2 separate regions of the Homo sapiens genome follow, and region 1 is linked to region 2. Evidence: promoter capture Hi-C in human tissues and cell types (Jung and others, 2019). All regions are on one chromosome and are shown on one strand. The core of a region is centred on a gene start or on the middle of the fragment in contact, and the rest is flanking DNA. Distances in the headings are between cores, read along the strand shown.

What was found. Contacts are between HindIII fragments. The study calls those that stand out against the background at their distance.
Region 1: the fragment with the promoter of CBLN3 here is called in contact with the fragment with the promoter of IL25 in region 2 in 1 of the 25 tissues and cell types used here (mesenchymal stem cells).

Annotation. Positions count from the first base shown.
Region 1 is chr14:24,428,218-24,430,917 of GRCh38, forward strand. It overlaps CBLN3 (cerebellin 3 precursor), which reads right to left and starts at 1,451. Exons shown (of 3, transcript NM_001039771.3): 1 at 538-1,451; 2 at 69-188. The coding sequence starts at 837. It overlaps KHNYN (KH and NYN domain containing), which reads left to right and starts at 1,737. Exons shown (of 8, transcript NM_015299.3): 1 at 1,737-1,902; 2 at 2,497-2,700. The coding sequence starts at 2,514. RefSeq lists a silencer at 1,574-2,113 and enhancers at 2,144-2,323, 2,468-2,700. The HindIII fragment of the contact is 5,614 bases long and covers 1-2,700 here.
Region 2 is chr14:23,371,480-23,374,343 of GRCh38, forward strand. It overlaps IL25 (interleukin 25), which reads left to right and starts at 1,330. Exons shown (of 3, transcript NM_172314.2): 1 at 1,330-1,496; 2 at 1,697-1,917. The coding sequence starts at 1,488. The HindIII fragment of the contact is 4,168 bases long and covers 578-2,864 here.

The sequences.
Region 1 (2,700 bases), core at 201-2,700, 1.1 Mb after region 2:
AGCTGGGCTCCCCTTCTTCCCCCTCCCCACCCTCCTGAGCCGGGGATGGGGGCCAGTGCTGAGGTCACCTGGACAGTTTGGCGGTTGTACACCTTCACCACATGGAACCGGAAGCTGTAGACACCCCGGACAGGGGCTACGAAGGAGCCAGAGGCCCGGTCAAAGCCACCGCCCTCGTTCACCAGGACCTGGGGGAAGCAGAGCCTGCTGAGTGGGGCTCAGGAAATGCCCATGGCTCAGGGGTACCATGGGGACTAGGGGCAGGGGCAGTGAGTAATGAATAGAAGGAGTGGCAAGTAGGAGTGAATAGGAGTGAACAGATTCAAAAGAAATGGTGAGAAGGGGCAAGGAGAGGGCTGCGTATGGGTGGAGGGAGGGGAAACCGTCGGTGGGGTGGTGGGGCAATAGGCCAGATTAGTGAAAGATGTAGGAAGCTGTTTTCTTAAAGCCTCAGAGACAGCAAAGTGGGCTTGGACAGTTGCTTCCAGGTCCTTGCAGGGTCTTTCCAGGTCCCCTGGACAGGGGTAGGGGGATTACCTGGTCGAAGTAGATGGCCCCACTGGTGCCATTGCCGGTTTCCCCTGCTGGCTCATGGTGGTGGCTTCGGACCGCAGCAAATGCCACTCGCCCAGGGGGTGCCTCTCCCAGGGCTGCTCCCCCGGGCCCCCCTGCAGCAGCTCGGCCAGGCTCACAGACCACCAGGCACTCCCCCTCCAGCAGGACGGGCTCTGACCCCTCCTGGGCCCACCCGGCCCCCAGGGCCAGAAGCACCAGAACCAAGGGCAGCCCGGGACTGTGTAGGGGACCTGGTAGCCAGTGTGGCTTGGCTCCCAACATGGCTGAGGGGCTCTGCAACCCACAAGTGCCCCGGTCTTCTGCCCCTCTTCTGTTTCCGCTCCTCTCCCTGGATTCTCACCGCCGGCACCCTGATCGTCTGCCCTCTCTAGGCTCGCTGAACCCCCTCTCCATACCTGTGTCCCAGCTCTGTCCTGCCTCCCACTCTTACTCCTGCTGTCACTGCAGTTCCCTCCTCCTTGGCAGAGCATGCAGTGACAGCAGTTGGGCTTTGGGAGAGAAAGGAGGGATGAAGCCGCCTGCCCACTGGACGGGAGGGCTGCAGCCAGAGCTTCAGGGCAGCCCTGCTGGATGGGACAGCACTGAGGGCTGGACCTGGGGGGATGGAGAACATGGTATGTGTGTGTGACGGGTGTGACAGAATGTGTGAGTGTGTGCATATGCCAGAGGCAGCCCCTCAACCCCTTCCTCCTACTCTTCCTCTCTTCAAAATCCCCCACAAATCAACAGCCCTTCTTCGTGGCATCTTTCCGTTTGTTGGAAGAAAGGGGTACTCCACCACGGGTACCCTCCGCCTCCCGCCTCCCGCCTACCCCCTCCGCCACGATTGCTTTGGTGGAAAGTGCTTGGGCCTAGAGCACCAGTGGGCCAGTCACGCTGCCTCTTTGGTCGGCCACATCTTTATTCGCGGGAAACAACTTTCAACGCATGGTTCCCCTTTCCGAGAAGTAACTGCGCAGAATGCGCGAGGACCCTGAGGGCCGGGAGACAGACGGGAGGGCTGGTGAGAAGCGCAAGGGGCGAGCCCTGGAGCCGCCGAGGGGACTAGGCCGAGCGGGCCCGTCGGGGCCTCTGGGCGCGGCGGCGGGGTTGGGAGGAGGGCGCGCAGCCGGGAGGAGCTGGGCTGACTCCGCCCCAGGCCAGGAAGTGACTCAAGAAACAGTTTGCGTGCGATGTGGACAAGAGAGGTCCCCGCTGGGTGAGGAACCCGGGAAGGCCCGCCCAGATTCGGGCCCCCTGCCCTTGTCCCCTGGGCTGGGGGCGCGGGCAAAGCGGGGGCCTGGCGGGCGCTGAGAGGACCTGAAGCCGGCGCGGGCGGCGGAGGCGGTAGGCGCGCCCCTCCACCGCGCCCGGGAGCGGGGAGCGGGGGCCGCGGTGCGGAGTAGGCCCGGCCCGGGGTGGCTGCCCCAGTCCGCGGTGGGCGGGCCCGGCCCGGCCCGGCCCCTGGGCCCTGGGCGGTGCTCCTGGCCCGACGGAGAGGGGCAGCGGACGGCTGGGGGAGGGGTGGGAGTGGCTTGAACCTTGGAAATGGCAGACCAGGGCCCCCAGAGGACAGCCTAGTTCAATCCCCTGCTGAGGATTCGTCCTTAAGAAGCTTCAGAGTGCCCCAGGAGACTCCTTCTGGCCTCCAGGCCGAGCTGGAGCCCCCCCACCCTTCTTGCTCCGGACTGTGGTCATCCTTTTCCAAAGCCCAGACGCCCACTCTCGATAGACAGCCTTGTTTACCGGGACTTCCTCTCCGGAGAGGCCTGCGTGACATACACCCTCCCTACCTCCAGTGGACTCAGATGCTTGTCACCTCCTGGGGCTGTTTACCAGAGCCTTAACTAGGTGCGACCTGTTGATAGCTGGTGTAGTCCCAGGAACCAGGATTTGGATGGAGGGTACAATGAGGCTCTGAGCTGCCTTCTCCCCTTCCAGGGCTGGGGGCAGCAGCCATGCCTACCTGGGGGGCCCGCCCCGCGTCCCCAGATCGCTTTGCGGTGTCTGCGGAGGCTGAGAACAAGGTTCGGGAACAGCAGCCCCATGTGGAGCGCATCTTCAGCGTGGGGGTGAGCGTCCTTCCGAAGGACTGTCCGGACAACCCCCACATCTGGCTGCAGCTGGAGGGCCCCAAGGAAAACG
Region 2 (2,864 bases), core at 80-2,579:
TTCCCAGCCACCACCTGCTTCTTCTAAGTGCCCTCCATCCCACAGTTCCAGGTGCCCCAAGACTCATCAGAGCAGAGCAGTTTCTCCCAATTTTCCAGATTGCCCTTTGACTTCATCACTTCTCTCTTTTGGGGCTGCTTTGCCCTAACGCATTGGAAAGATTCCTCTCACTGCAGTTTAAGTTATTCCTGGTTCCCTTTGTTGATTTCCTAGTCCTTGGTTACTAGAGGAGTATTTTCTAAGGGAAAGCACATGCAAATCAAGCCACATCATTCTAGGGGCAATGTCTGTGTATGGGTATGTTGGGTGCGTATGGGGGATGAGGCAGGCCAATAGGCAAGCATGAAGAGAAGGACCTGGGGGGAAGGACACACTGGCCCACTCTCAGCACAGTGTCTCCCAAGCAGGCTGGACCCGGCTGACCTGTGTCTTTGGGGTCAAGCCCAACTGTAAGCCTTTCTGGGGCACACATACACCCTCCTGGCTAACAGTGGCCCATGTTTCTGGACCTGCTGAGGCTGAGTGGGCTCACTTCATGGCCTGAAAGCAGTAGCTGACCCTGTCATGGGCTTGGTCCCCAAGGCTCTGTGAATGAGAGCAGGTTGGTTCCTGGAACTGAGACCTCCTTCCTGTTGGGTCTTAGGTGAGGCTGTTTCAGTTTCCCTCCTCTTCCTTGCTTCACCTTCTCATTTGTGCAATGGGGACACTCACCCACAGCTTCTTCCATCAGACCTTGCCCATCCAGCCAACAAACTTAGGAAGTCAGGGTCTTCCAGCAGCCCTGTGAGGGTAGGCTTGTATCCCCGGTGGGGGGCAGTGACTGGCGAGGGCAAGGGGGAGTTAGGGAGTGGGTCATGGACAATGGGGGAGAAGTCATAGCTGATGGGGGTCATAGAATTTTGGGGTCATTGAAAATGTGGAAGAGGTCAGAGAACAAAGGGGATGGGAGTCAAAGGATGTCTAAGGGAAAGGAAATAATCACGAAGGTGGATGATCAGAGGGACACCTGGGAAGAGGGGAATGGTGAAACCAGACCCTGGATGGGGGGAGCAGGGATCATGGAAACGAGGCCTCTTGAAGGGAGGCCACAAGACATTTCCTAATTTTGGCTACCAAACCAACCAGGGAAATCCCGCTAATGCCAGTTCACAAGAATGCAGAACAGCAGACTGTTATTGCTTTGACCCCATGGCCAGAAAAATTCAAAGAGCAAAGTTTACCCAATCAGCTACCAGGCATATAATGATGGTCATCACAACTTCCATGAGTATTGCATTTTAAGCAGCCTTTGGAAATACTTTCAGAGTTTTTTTGGTTTTGTTTTTTAACCTCAAGTCACTCCCTAAAAAGACAGTGGAAATAAATTTGAATAAACAAAACAGGCTTGCTGAAAATAAAATCAGGACTCCTAACCTGCTCCAGTCAGCCTGCTTCCACGAGGCCTGTCAGTCAGTGCCCCACTTGTGACTGAGTGTGCAGTGCCCAGCATGTACCAGGTCAGTGCAGAGGGCTGCCTGAGGGCTGTGCTGAGAGGGAGAGGAGCAGAGATGCTGCTGAGGGTGGAGGGAGGCCAAGCTGCCAGGTTTGGGGCTGGGGGCCAAGTGGAGTGAGAAACTGGGATCCCAGGGGGAGGGTGCAGATGAGGGAGCGACCCAGATTAGGTGAGGACAGTTCTCTCATTAGCCTTTTCCTACAGGTGGTTGCATTCTTGGCAATGGTCATGGGAACCCACACCTACAGCCACTGGCCCAGCTGCTGCCCCAGCAAAGGGCAGGACACCTCTGAGGAGCTGCTGAGGTGGAGCACTGTGCCTGTGCCTCCCCTAGAGCCTGCTAGGCCCAACCGCCACCCAGAGTCCTGTAGGGCCAGTGAAGATGGACCCCTCAACAGCAGGGCCATCTCCCCCTGGAGATATGAGTGAGTCTGCTGCCCCTCCCGAATGCCTGCCCTGTGTGTGCTGGCCAGGGTATGCGTGAGGGACCAGGGCAATTCCAGCTTACTTTCCCATTTTGATCTCAGAGGGGCTGTAAAGGTTTGGGAGTTAGACAAGGTCTGTATTTGAGTCCTAGCTCTGACTCTCATTGGATGATCTTGAGTCAATTCAAGTTTTCAAAACTCAGGGTTTTTTTTTTTTTCACCTGCAAAATGATATAATGCCCCATAGGCTAATGTGCAGATCAAATGAAATATAATGTATGTAAAAGTCTGTATTTATGTTGGTTCTCTCCTTTTCTTTTAAAACATCCCTATAATGGCCCATGTTTTTTCTGGGTAAAATATTAGGGAATAATGGCATGATACAGGCATGAAGCATCCCAATACCAATTGATACTGCCCTGGCCATGAATGGGTTAGTTATAAGCATACTAAAGGAGTGAAACCCTTAACTTTTGGGGGCAGCTGGCTGGCTGGAGCTGTGGACTGGATATCTTTGATCATGATCATGGGTACTGTATTCTTTCACTCAGTGTGCCACATAAATATTATAGTTCTCTATTTGTGCCATGATATGAAAAATATTAGGAAGTGCTGAAATATGAATGATGAAGCAAAATATTAAAAACTAGGGTCTTAGGGATTCCAGACATGTGATTTCACTTCTTCCTTCTAGTTCTGTCTTAGCATTGGCTTTGGGGGTAGATGGAGAAGTTCAGTGGTGGGGAGGGGGTCAGATCTAACTGAGATTGGATCTAGTGTGGACACTACAGGTCATGACTCTTTGGAGTGGTCTCAGAAGCTGGCTGGGTCCTGGGCCAAATCAGATGGCATGGGAGCTTCTTAGGGGAGGCGGGTGCCAGAGGTTAACTCAGCTGTCTTCCAGACCCCTTGCTGGGAGTCTGTGAACCCGAGAACCACTCAGGTGG